Regions from separate parts of the Homo sapiens genome. Here all the other regions are linked to region 3. Evidence: promoter capture Hi-C in 16 types of primary human blood cells and fetal thymus (Javierre and others, 2016). All regions are on one chromosome and are shown on one strand. The core of a region is centred on a gene start or on the middle of the fragment in contact, and the rest is flanking DNA. Distances in the headings are between cores, read along the strand shown.

Evidence for each region. The method cuts DNA at HindIII sites, captures the fragments that hold promoters and counts their contacts. A CHiCAGO score of 5 or more calls a contact.
Region 1: a contact is called between a fragment that was not itself captured here and the fragment with the promoter of TCF7L1 in region 3, in 1 of 17 cell types (endothelial precursors). The highest score is 5.4, in endothelial precursors.
Region 2: a contact is called between a fragment that was not itself captured here and the fragment with the promoter of TCF7L1 in region 3, in 2 of 17 cell types (endothelial precursors and megakaryocytes). The highest score is 15.2, in endothelial precursors.

What each region holds. Positions count from the first base shown.
Region 1 is chr2:85,216,168-85,220,488 of GRCh38, forward strand. All of the region lies in intron 3 of TCF7L1 (transcription factor 7 like 1), which reads left to right. It overlaps LOC102724579 (a long non-coding RNA gene), which reads left to right. Exons shown (of 3, transcript NR_136323.1): 2 at 853-1,039; 3 at 1,833-2,002. Among named protein-coding and RNA genes, the nearest start is that of TCF7L1-IT1, 32 kb to the left of the region's middle. The HindIII fragment of the contact is 1,815 bases long and covers 694-2,508 here.
Region 2 is chr2:85,242,450-85,246,815 of GRCh38, forward strand. The region is part of intron 3 of TCF7L1 (transcription factor 7 like 1); the gene reads left to right. Among named protein-coding and RNA genes, the nearest start is that of TCF7L1-IT1, 58 kb to the left of the region's middle. The HindIII fragment of the contact is 2,851 bases long and covers 923-3,773 here.
Region 3 is chr2:85,131,695-85,136,061 of GRCh38, forward strand. It overlaps TCF7L1 (transcription factor 7 like 1), which reads left to right and starts at 1,698. Exons shown (of 12, transcript NM_031283.3): 1 at 1,698-2,239; 2 at 2,322-2,385; 3 at 2,629-2,756. The coding sequence starts at 1,991. RefSeq lists a silencer at 1,298-1,367 and enhancers at 1,733-2,307, 2,883-3,457, 3,458-4,031. The HindIII fragment of the contact is 24,991 bases long and covers 1-4,367 here.

The sequences.
Region 1 (4,321 bases), core at 351-2,850, 84 kb after region 3:
TTTTATTCAAAAGGGAAGAAAAGGCACTAACAAAGTATGAGCAAGTTTGGGCCCTGCCTGCCCAGCCTTTCCTTCCCCGTGGCTCCGGGCAGCTTTTTTCCCCCCATCCCCCACCCTGCATTACTTGACTGGTGAGGAAATAATAGTTGGGCTCTGCTGAGAAGGTATGTGACTGTGCAAAATGCAATTTGCCCGTTTCCGCTGCCCATGAAGACCCGACAGCCCACTTGCCATCTGGGAACCTCGCGCCCTGCTGTGCTTGGAGTTTTCGGAAACGATGGATTCCAAACAACTTCCAGTGAGCAATTGGTGATATTAAGTTAACTGAGTTCATCTTACCCTTTTTATTTTGCCTCAGAGAGTAAAATAAGATAGAAGCAAACATACCAGCCCACAAACATGTCCATGCTTCCTTTTGCTTCTAGAAGGCGTATGTTGGGAAATTAATCAGACCAACGTTAGCCCCTTCCTCCCGGCCCTGGAAGAATGCCTGGTGTGTGTGCATCCCCCTCTCCAGTTAGCAATTACCGAACAACTTCTGTGGCTACCAAGGAGAGCATGATAGGGTCCCAGCCCTCCAGAGCTTACAATGTAAGAGAACAAACAGGAACATGAGTCTTTACAATACCTGCAGTGAGCGCCAACAAAGTGGAATAAAATGTCACCTGAAATACCTGAGAAAGGGGCTTCTCAAGCTTGGAGAAGGCAGAGGCTTTGGAGAGATGTTTGATCTGAGCCTTGCAGGAGACCGTCCAAGTGTGGGTTCTAGTACTACCTGGATGCAAGCCTTCCTCCGCCTGTGTCCCAGCAAGGAAGAGTTGCCTTCTTAATGACCCCATTCATTGTCCCTAGAACGTGGTGATTTACCAGAAGTCTTCAGAGGCAAGCCATCTTCAATTCAGAAGGGGAATCCCACATGTGTGTTGAATATGAGGCATTGTTTAAGACACCTCCTGCCCTCACCACATTGGCAAACTGACAGCGTCAACTTGAAACAAGTCTGCACATTGTGGCCATTTTCACTCCACAACAAATGTTTGTAAGTGGCCACCTAAGCCTGTGAACTTCCTAACTTTGATAATTACAAACACGAGGTAGATAAGATTGAAGCAAACCTGGCAAGTTATACTGACTTGCAGCTGAAGCACTCTGAGAAACAGAACAATTTGTTCACAGAAAAAGGAAATTAAGGTGTTTCTACACTCTTTAATTTCCAAGGTCTTTGTTTAAAGTGAATGAGTTCAAATGAGGGAAGACACATTCTGCTCACGTTTGATGTCACTCACTACTCATGTCGCAGCATAGGGTGTCACAGCCTGTGTCCCAGCTTCTTCCCATGGGCACCATGCTCTTCAGCCATACAGACTCGGACATTCCACTGCCAACCAGTATCCTCACCAATGACCCCAAGGTGCTGTTGAGGCACTTTTCTTTTTCAGAGTTTACTGACATCCTACCCACCACTGAGTAGCATGTTCCTTGCCCATGATTCCCTTCTGTACTCCCTCCCCCAATACCCTGTATAGGCCAAGTATCCCTTATCCAAAATGTTTGGGGCCAGAAGTGTTTCGCAGTTTTGGAACTCTTATTGGATTTGGGAATATTTGCATTATACTGACCAGCTGAGCATCTGTAATTGGAAAATCTGACATGCCCCAGTCAGCATCTCATTTGAGTGTCATGTTGGCACTCAAGAAGTTTCAGATTTTTGAGCATTTTGGATTTTGTATTTTCGATTTTGGGGTTAGGGATGCTCAACTTGTACTAGCATTAAATTAGGTCTAATCAGTTTTTATCAAAATAATTTTTTTCTTTTTTGTCTCCTTCACTAGACCATGGAATTCCTTGGAATCAAAAATCATGTCCTCTTCTCCCGTGCCTAGAAGAATGCCCGAGAGGTGTTCACTATGTATTTATAGGGTGAAATTTTCCTATATATGTCTTATATCCCTTAAGAAATTTTTTTCCAGACAATAAATGCTCCCTTTTCAAAGCACTATAATTAACTCTAGGTGTTTTTGATTTAAAATGTTCTGAAATGCATCCCACACTTTTCTAACTTTACTTATTTTATTTATTTATTTATTTATTTATTTATTTATTTTTGAGACAAGATCTTGCTCTGTCACCCAGGCCTGGAGTGCAGTGGCACGATCTTGGCTCACTGCAATTCCGCCTCCTGGGCTCAAGCAATCCTTCTGCCTCAGCCTCCTGAATAACTGGGACTATAAGCACATGCCACCATGCCTGGCTAATTTTTGTATTTTTTGAAGAGATGGGGTTTCACCATGTTGCCCAGGTTGGTCTTGAACTCCTAGGTTCAAGGGATTTGCCTGCCTTGGCCTCCCAAAGTTCTGGGATTACAGGCGTGAGCTACCACGCCCAGCGTTATCTGACTTCTAGTGGTTCCAAACATCTATATTAAAATCATGAACTAGGAAATATTTAGTTAAAATATCTTTTTATTCCAATGGGGGGGGGAAAACTGGTGATAGTGTTCTTTCCTAAAGCTTTTGCATTTTTTCCTCTAGGAGAGGTCCTTGGATATTTACCCAGGCTTTCCTGACTTGATAAAAGAACACTGCTTGATTATATAGTGCAGTCATCTGCAGATTAAGTGGCAGCTGACCATCTAGGCAGGGGAAAATATGAGAAGTAATAATATAAAAGGATACTCTGTGATGGACGGGCATAATGGTGAATAAGATGTTCAGAGCCAGGAGCACTGGGTCACACCTGTAATCCCAATACTTTGGGATGCTGAAGCAGGAGGATCACTTGAGGCCAGGAGTTCAAGACCAGCCAGGTCAACATAGCCAGACCCTGTCTCTACAAAAAATAAAATAAAATAGGCACACACCTGTAATCCCAGCTACTCAGGAGGCTGAGGTGAGAGGATGGCTTGAGCCCAGAAGTTAGGGGCTGCAGTGAGCCACGCTTGTGCCCCTGAACTCCAGCTTGGGCAACAGAGTGAAACCCCATCTCAAAAAACAATTTTTTTTCCCCAGAAAATGCTGTTGTATGCTTTCCATTGAAAGAAAGAAGCAGGATCAGAGAAATGCAGACTAAAACAATGAGACGGCAAAAGTTAAAGTCTAAGCATACTGGTGTTGGCGAGGATGTTTGTTAATAAATGACACATTTGCGTATTATATTGAGGAATGATTTGGCAATATCTAGTAAAATCAAAGATGCACATATCTTATGACCCAGCAAATCTACTACACATGAGCACAAGGGACATGAACAAGAACGCTCCTTGCTGCATTGTTTACAGTAGCATAAACTAGAAACAACATATGTGGCCATCTATGTATTAAATAAATAAATATAGTCATCTAGTAGAATATAGTGAATTAACTCAGATCTACATGTATTAACATGAATAAATTCTAAAAGTGTAACACTCATTAGAAAAAGTAAGTGGCTAGGCTGGGCACAGTTGCTCACACCTATAATCCCAGCACTTTGGGAGGCCGAGGCAGTGGGATCACTTGAACCCAGGAGTTTAAGACCAGCATGGGCAGCATAGTGAGACCTCATCTCTTTGAAAAGAAAGAAAGAAAAAATAAGGGGCTAAAAAATACCTAAAATGTAGTGCCATTTATAAGAATGTTTGTAACTCCCAAGAGAATGATAATTGCATTTGGTTATACAGGAGAATGCCCTGGTGTTTAGGAGATCTGGGCTGAGGTATTTGAGGGTAAGGTGTTACAATGTTGACAACTGACTTTCAAATGGTTCTGCAAAATTAAAATGTGTTTGTGTGAATACATACATAGGGGAGGGAGGTAAGCAAAGCCAATGTGTGAACATGTTAACGATGATTGATCTGGATGAAGGACAGATGGGTGTTTATTGTACTTTTCCTATAACTTTCCTGTAAAATGGAACTTTTCAAAATAAAAAATTGAAGACACTCATTGAACCTATAAATTGTGGATAATACATATGTAGTGAAATATATTCAATGAAAAACATGCAGAGGTATGACAAGCAGTACCTTTAGGACAACATTACTTCTGGGAGGGCAGATAAATGAATGACAGATCGGATACTTGAGCTATATCAATAACACTTTATTTCTTTAAGAAAAAAAAGAGGTGGGGAGCTCTAGATTAATATGGGAAAATGATAAGCTATTCAATCTGGTGTCCATTAGTGTCTCTACTTACTTTCTGTACTTAAAAAAAAATATATATATATGTATATATATTTTTTGAGATGGAGTCTCACTGTCACCCAGGCTGGAGTACAGTGGCGCAATGTCAGCTCACTGCAACCTCCTCCCAGGTTGAAGCGATTCTCCTGCCTCAGCCTT
Region 2 (4,366 bases), core at 1,098-3,597, 110 kb after region 3:
GTCCTCATCCAAGCCTGACCACAGCCGTTATGACAGCATGAATGCAAACACCACCTCTCCTGACCTAGACGCTGCACCCGGCTGTGCCCGCTTCTGCTGTAGGGAGAGTCAGTGAGGTCCATCTGCAGCCTTCCTCCTTTTCCTTGAATGGGGCTTGGCATTGAGGTTTGTGCACACCCTGTATAGAAGGCAAATGTTGAGGCCAGCCTTGTCCCCAGGCTCAGTCTTCCTGAAGACTTTGTCACTCCTGCTCACAGCACCCACTTTCTCCCCTTCCACACGGGATGTGTTGCTTCCTCCTGTTTCTTCTCTTTGCAGATCTCCAGTTTTCTGTCTCCTTCAAGAAATCTCCCCAGGGCCTCTATATCCCCTTTTCTCTGCCTCCCTATTGAAGCAGATGTTTTACCTCAGCCTTTCCTAGTACACTGTACTGTTTTAAAAACTATTGAATGAAAGGGCATGTTTTCCTTTCCTTTCCCCATTTAGATTACACACCTCTGGCAGTGGGGCCTCCAGCAAGTCTTAAAGATCTCGACGCACCGACATCTTGGCACATAGTAGTTAACAATAAGTAACTGTTCAATTGGCTTCTAGTTGAACCTCATATGTCTTGGTTAACATGTGCAGGATTGGTAGGCATTCAGCCCCAATTATTCCGCCCTTAACTCATTTTTGCAGTTTATTAATAATCAGTTGGCACGCAGTTTCGAAAGAACTAATTCTGTAATAACATGTTATGGCTACTCCTCGGCGCCATTACATGCCTGAGGTCCCTTGCTGTCCCTTTGTGTTTTTGATGAAAGGTAACAGCCTGGTGTTCCCAGCCGTCACCCAGAGGTGGGAGCAGATCCGGCTGCTGCAGCTTATTGCTAGGAATGGGTGAGGCTGAGTGGAAGCTTTAGTAACTCAGGTGCGGCTCTTAAGCTTTGTTTTGAGTTTCAAAAGGGCTGTTTTGTCCCTTACTCGTGAAGTGGCCTTGTGTGACATAATGGCCCCCTCTGTGCAGGGTTCGAGGGGAAGGGAAGGGGAACATGCCCAGCGACTCCACGTGGGGAAGTTGCATTTCCACACCATTCACAGGGGATCCAGTGTTTTCGGAATTGTCTGGGTGTGAACAGCATAAGAGGTGCTAGAAACTCAGCAAGGGAAGGGGGAGCTGGGCCAGGAGGAGAAGGCTGGGGATGGGCTGAGGAGAGAGAGCTTCCTGGCCAGAGGCAGCCCCAGGCATGGGTCTTGGGTTCTGAGTGGGCAGGATTCTGGCTCAGGGTGAGAGGTGAAACTTCGTTCAGGAGATATACGCTGAGCCATCCACTACGTGCCAGGCACCTTAGAAAGGGCCGGGTATTCATATTGTGACTTCACACGGCTCCCTGCAGAGTTGACGTTGGGAGCTGCCCTGCTAGCCACGGACCACATTGTGAACAGCACCCCCTGGGGGTGGGAGATGTGGTGGGCGGAGTTCAGGATCCAGCCACAGGGAAAGAACGAACAGGCAAACTGTGGGATCCCGGCCTGCCAGGGAGGGTTCAGGGTAAAGCCTTCAGTTTGCTTGTTCATTCATTTATTCAATATTTATTGAAGGCCTCACAGGGAGGTGACAAACTCTATAGACACATACACGGGGGAAGAGCACGCCAGGCAGAGGGAACAGCAGGTGCAAAGGGGATGGCGCTTGGTAGGTTCCAGGAGCGGGCAGAACAGAGTGGCTGGAGCAGAGTGGGCAAGGCTGGGGGGCAGCACTGAAGGAGGCACAGTCAGAAAGGGGACAGGGGGCTGGTCACAGGGGCATGCAGCCCATGATGAAGCCTTTTGACTGAGATGGGGAGTAGAGAGGGGTCTTGAGCAGAAAGGTGACGTGATCCAACCTTTGTTTTAACGTAGCGCCATGGCTGCCATGATATAATCATAGACCGAAGGGGTCAAGGGTAGAAAATCAGAGACAAGTTGTTGGGCCAGTGGGGCCTGGATGGTGGCAGTAGAAATGGGGAAAGTTCTCAGATTCTGGACCCATTTTGAAGGAGGAGTGACAGGATTTGCTGATGGAACAAATGTGGGGAGCAAGAGGAAGAAGAGTTAGGAATGTCTCCTGGGCAGTGGGAAAGAAGAAAGTGTCATTGACAGAAATGGAGAAGACTGTGGGAGGGGCAGGTTTGGGAGGAAATAATTAGGAGCTCTGTTTGGGACATGTTGTATTGGAGATACTTTTTGGACATCCAGTGGGGAGAGTGATAGGTGGGGTAATTGGGTCTAGAAGTCAGGGATGAGGTCTAGGTTAGAGACAGAGACTTTAGTCATCAGCATGTTGATGGTACTTCAAGCCATGAGACTGGAGGAGATCCCTGAGACTGAAGCTGAGAAAAAAAGAGGTCAAGGGCTGAGCCGTGGGCACTACAGCTTTTGCACACTGGAGAGAAGAGCAAGAACTGGCAAAGGAGACTGAGAAGGAGCAGCCAGAGAGGTAGGAGGAGACCTGGTGGGCGCCGCATTCCTGCAGCCAAGGAGGGGAGTGTACGAAGGAAGAGGGGCTGCTGCTGAAGGTCGAGTGAGATGAGGGCTGAGAAACAACCATTAGGTTTAGCAAATGCAGGTCTTTGCTGTCCTCAAAATATAGACTTGGCACTCTGCCCGCTAGCAGGACAGATTCCAGAATAGAATCTGGTATCAAGACAGATACCAGGGAGAGGAGGCTCTTCAAAATCCCAGGCACGTCTGGCCCCCTAGGAGACTCAGGAAAAAGTCTCCAGACTTGGAACCTAAGCTGGACTGCCTTATCTGAGAAGATTGGTGTAATCAATGGTTTGGTGTCAGGCTCCCATAGAGAATGGGGTGAAGCTGACTATGGCTCAGCACTTGCTTAGGATAGTGGGCCATAGGGGGTTCCCTTCTTGGATGGAGGGCCGAAGGCAAGCCTCTTCACTGGGCATCAGTCACCAGTCCCTCTTCCCTCTAAGATGGGGTAGGTTGGCTGACAAGGCTTCCCACTGGCACAGTGCAACCAGAAGTCCCAGATGGGGACCTGGAACCATGTGGCTCATCTTTGAGCTACAAGGTCAGAGCCAGGGGCCTCTTTAAAACAGACCGGGCCAGGCACGGTGGCTCACATCTGTAATCCCAGCACTTTGGGAGGCCGAGGCGGGCAGATCACGAGGTCAGGAGATCGAGACCATCCTGGCTAACACGGTGAAACCCCGTCTCTACTAAAAAAAATACAAAAAATGAGCTGGGCATGGTGGTGGGCGCTTGTAGTCCCAGCTACTCGGGAGGCTGAGGCAGGAGAATGGCATGAACCTGGGAGGAGGAGCTGGCAGTGAGCCGAGATCGCACCACTGCATTCCGGCCTGGGCAACAGAGCGAGACTCCATCTCAAAAAAAAATTAATTAATTAAAAAAAAAAAAAAACAGACCAACAGTTGCCCATAGACCAACAGCAGTTTGTCAGATGGAAACAGTTAAAGGATGGCCATGTCCTTCTTGGGCAGTGCAGTGCCGGTTTTGGTCACCCGGTGACTGACCAGCTCTCCTTTGCCCAGAAAGATCTCCAAGTGAATGGCAGTCAGGTGTCCCCCATGAATGTGGTTTAGGACAGGACTGTCCACAGTGCTGACTCAATGCAATGGTGTTATTTATTGCTTCTGCTAGTGGTGGTGGTTGGCTTGGTTCTGATCTCCAGATGTAACAGTGCCATCCCGGCAAGTGAAATCATGCATTGGGAAAAAATCGAGGATGGACATCTCAACACAGTTGGGTGTAGTTTCCACTTGCAATTACTCATAAGCTTCACAGGCTTAGTGGAATCTTAAACTGCCCTCAAAGGAAAACTCAATTAGATCAAAATGGATTTAATTACTTAATGAATTCTAAATGTGTCAAAATTGACAGGCAAGCTTATTTGGGGGCCTGGGAGAGGGAAGTACTATGAAGAGTGTCACATGCCTTTCATGACAGAGCAGAAGGGAGCTCACCTCCCACACAGCTCCACCCACATATTCCCAGATTGACATACTTAACGACTCACATCCATTATCTCATTTCATCCTCAAAATAGTTCTAAGAATTAAGTGCAGCTGGTATAATCACTCCTATTTAATAGACAGTGAGTTGAGGCTTATTGAGGTGATGGATTTGCCCCTGGCAAGGCGAGGCTCTCCACGCAGGTCTCCTGACTTCTCCATCTGGCCGTTGCTCGGTGGGGGAGGAAGCAGCCCCTCTGACAAGTGTACTCATGGATATTGCCACCAGCATTTATTAATAACAGATGAGCCAAGTGCTCAGCAGAATTGCAATCCTAAGGACTCTCAAGCATTTCTCTCAAGATATTTTTTTCTTATCTCATGAAATCATGCAGTCTAGTCATTATCTGATACAT
Region 3 (4,367 bases), core at 448-2,947:
GTTAATTAGAAGGGTCCTGTGTCCTGAGGGGGAAAGAGGAACTTTTACTTGTTACTCGATACTGCTCAAGATACATCTGTTATTTGAAAACGCTTTATGAGACTGTACTCATGTATTGTGTAAAAAATTAGAAAAGGCATATCTGCTTGTTATAAAGTTCATAGAAACCAGAAAACTATCTCCTTTCACTTATCCTTTCCCAGAAATAGTCATTGATAATAATTTGCATCTTCTCAGATTTTTTTCTACGCAGAAATAAATGTGTATAATTTTTTTAAAAACAAAAATAAAATAGTGAGTGTCATATATAGTGTTTCATTTAAAGATGTTCCTCCAAAATCAATCTTGGTCCATGTGCCTGTGTGTGTGTGTGTGTGTGTGTGTGTGTGTGTGTGTGTGTGTGTGTGTATGGGTGGGGGGAGGGGCGGGGACACTGCATAGAACTGGCCAGCTGCATGGACTGTCACTGTAAAGAAAGATGAAGAATGCATGTCACCAAGCTCTCTGATGCTTTGAACCTAGCATATGTGGCTTTGCCCATATGTGCGGGCACCTCTGTAGAAACTCTTCTGCCAGTTGGGCTGAAAATAGTTTTACATAGTTCCATACTGCCTTCCAAGCTGTTTTCAAAGTTTATGCTCTAATAGTTCCCCACGGAGGATAACACAAGATATTCATTTTCCTCAAACTTTCCCGCACAGGTTGGAGAGAAACGACATCTTAATGTCATTGTAACAGGCATTTCTTTATTAAAAAAATTTTTTTTTTGGAGACAAGGTCTTGCTATGTTGCCCAGGCTGGTCTCAAACTCCTGGGCTCCAGCGATCCTCCTGCCTAGGCCTCGGGAGTAGATGGAACTCCAGGCGCGGGCCGTGGCGCTCGCACCACAGGCATTACTTAGGTATGAGGCTGGTTGAGCATTTTTCTCGTGTTCACTGGCTACTCACGCAGCTTTGTGAATGGCTTCGGAGATCACTGGACAGGCAATTTTCCCTCTCAATGAACCAAATCCAAATTCTTTTGGAACCCAAGACCGCGATTTTTCGATTTAGGACCTAGTCCCAAACAATGAAGAAAAGGTGATCTTCAAGATTTCAGCAGGGAAATCTGTATATCTGTACAAGGTTGAAAACCTGGGCCGGGGGTCGCGTTGGAACCCCACAGGAAAAAGGCGCGGAAAGCCGCCGGGCATTTTCCGGGGTTCCATAGATGTCCCCAGTGTCCTAGTCCGTGCATCAGCTCGCGCACTCGGAGGGACTCTAGGCAGGGGGAGGGCCCCGCGGCCAGTATGTGCGTCCGAGGCTTTCCCGCAGGGGGCAGTGCCGCCCGCCCGCGCGCCGATACGGTGGGAGGGGGTGGGAACCTGCGCGGAGTTCTGGAGGTTCTTTGGGAGAAAGTTAGGGGATGCGGAGGGGTGGGCGCAAGACTTCCAGGACTCCAGGGAGGCCGTGGGGAGGGCCGCCGAGGGTGCAGTGTGAGGCGCAGGAGGGGGTTGGGGGCGGTGCACGTTGCAGGGAGACGCAGCCCCTGGAAGATGCGAGTGTGAACGTGTGAGTGTGAGTGCGTGTGTATGTGTGTGTGTGCGCGCGCACCGCAGCTCTCCGGGTTCCGCGAGGCGCGCGGGTGTCAGCTTGCAGCCGGGGCTCCTCCCTCCGGCCCCCCTGCCCAGCCCGGCGGTCCCTCCTCCCTCCCTCCCCGCTCGCCCCTCCCCGGCGGGCCAGGGGCTGGGACGCCCCGGCGGAGCAGGCGGCGGCGGTGGCGAGTTGGGGAGCCCTAGGCTCGGCGCTGCCGGAGGGGCCCGAGCCGAGCCGCCTGCGCCCCGGCCGGGCAGCGCCGGGCCCGCTTCCCGCGGGGCCACGCCCTGTCAAACTTTGTTGCGGCGGCTAGCGCAGCGGGCCCGCAAGCGGGCGGGAGGGGCGCCGGGCCGGGCCGGGCAGGGCGCGGGCGGCTAGGGGCTCCGAGAGCGGCGGCCCCGGCCCGCGGCCCCACCATGCCCCAGCTCGGCGGCGGGGGCGGCGGCGGCGGCGGCGGCAGCGGGGGAGGCGGCGGCTCCAGCGCCGGGGCGGCCGGCGGAGGGGACGACCTCGGGGCGAACGACGAGCTGATCCCCTTCCAGGACGAGGGGGGCGAGGAGCAGGAGCCGAGCAGCGATAGCGCCTCGGCGCAGCGGGACCTAGACGAGGTCAAGTCGTCCCTGGTCAACGAGTCGGAGAACCAGAGCAGCAGCTCGGACTCGGAGGTAAGGAAGCACCGCGGCCACCCCCGGGGGATCCCGGCCCTGCGTCCGCTCACCCGCTCTTGCCTTTGTGTCTCCTCCGCAGGCGGAGAGGCGCCCGCAGCCCGTCCGGGACACTTTCCAGAAGCCGCGGGACTATTTCGCCGAAGGTATGTGCCCGCTGGGACAGCCCCCCACTCTCGATTCCCGCTGCGCTCCGCTGCTCAGCCCGGGCGGCCCACCGTCCCCCTTGCTTGGGTGGACGCACCCTTGCCCTCCGCCTTTATTGGCGGCAGCCCCCGTGGGGCGCGCGTGGGGGGCGCTGGGGTCCCCAGCTCCCGCCTCGAGCCCCCTGCCGCGGCGCTGTCAGTCCCGGGGGCCTGGGCCTCACCTCGCCTTGGTCTTGTTCGCAGTGAGAAGGCCTCAGGACAGCGCGTTCTTTAAAGGACCCCCGTACCCTGGGTACCCCTTCCTGATGATCCCGGACCTGAGCAGCCCGTACCTCTCCAACGGACCCCTGTCTCCCGGAGGAGCGCGCACCGTGAGTGCCCGTCGGGCGCGCCGGGGAGGGTGGGAGGCCGCGGCCCGCAGGATGCGCCCCCGGGCTTGGCCATGGAGTGGGGGATGGGGCCTTCTGCGCCGATCCCAAGCAGAACTTGTTTGCGGAGTTGAACTACTCTCTGGCGGCCGAGCGCGAGGCTGCGCTGGCCAGTGCCTGGATGAAAGTAAAGTTACTTTAACTTTTCCCCTCTTGCGGGTTGAGGTTTTGGAGTCCACCTCTGGGATCTTCCTTGGCCTCCAGAATTCTTCGCCTGCACCGAAGGAAACTTGGATTTGTGCCCGCTTTGGGGGGGTCTCGCTTTCCTTCTTGGAAATCGGTCAGCTTTCTCTGGCAGTGGGGCAAGGGGCCTAGGGAGCTGGGTTGGCGACGTTGTCCTCCGACTCCGGGTTCACTGGGCGGCTGCAGGCTGGTTCCTAAGAAACCCAGTTTTCGTGGCGGGTTATTCACAGCCCCCGTTCCCACCCCCAGCCCTCGCACCGGGGCCTCAGCTTTTCTGCGGAGCTAGCTCCGAATTTTAAACTCGCGTAGATGATTTCGAGGCGACCCAAGGCATTCTTCAAGTTGAGGAACTTGGCTTTTTCCCCCTTTTGTCGCCTGCTTTTCTCATTTAAAGCGAGCGCTGCGACACTTTAAACCTGTTAATGGGCGCGTATTGTGTGCTGCCCGCTGGCATTTAGAGCGGTGATTAAGCAAATTGACCGGGCCCCAGACGACGTGCAAATGAGGGCGGATTCCTTCGCCCCCTCTCTCTGGCTCTAAACTCCCGCCCCCCGCGTTGCGAGGGGCGCAGCTGGGGGCTGGCGAGGCCTTTGTGTCCCCCAAGCCGCCACTCCACCCCTAGGCTCCCTGCCCAGGTGCTGGGTCCGATGACAGATGTTGGGTGAACGCCTACCTACTGTGTGCCAGGTTCCCGCGTGCTGCTGCTTGGGCGCGATGTGAATCGTAGTAGTTCTTTGCTTCCCGCCCAGATTCCCATTGCCTGCCACTTCGCTGTCGACGGTGGGTAAGGGGGCAGGGAGTGTTAGCCTCTTAGGAGCAGGGTCCCAGCAACACACTTTATGCTAAGACTGCCCTAAAATAACGACGATAATTAAAGGGTGCTAGAGAAAGGCTAGGTGCTGAATGGCCATTCCTGCTGTCATTGTACAGCGGTCGGTGGAGAGCCAAGTCCTCCACATTTGGTTCAGCGGGGGCGCTACCATCACCAGATGGGTTGGAGGGGGATTGACGGGGGGCGGTGGAAGAGACTCTGACTGAGAGAGAGGGGAATGGGGAGTGGGACTACACAGACCTCACAGTTTTGCCCCGAGAGGGAGGGAGGTCTTGCAGCTTTGGCCCTGCTGGCCTGGAGCACCCCAGGAAGTCCTGAATGTAAGTGTCAGTTTTGCAGTGAAAACTGGATGTGGGTCTATGGCTGTTGCTTTTTCTCATTAAAAGAAAAGAGGTGCGTGCCAATCAAAGGGGGGGGGGGATCAACGAGCTGCTGCGGTCTTATTTAGGTTTTCAGTGATTCCCACCAGTGCCCACACATGTAGCTTAGTTCTGCAAGTTTTGTTGGGATTCGTGTAACTTTGCGTATGGGGGAGAGTT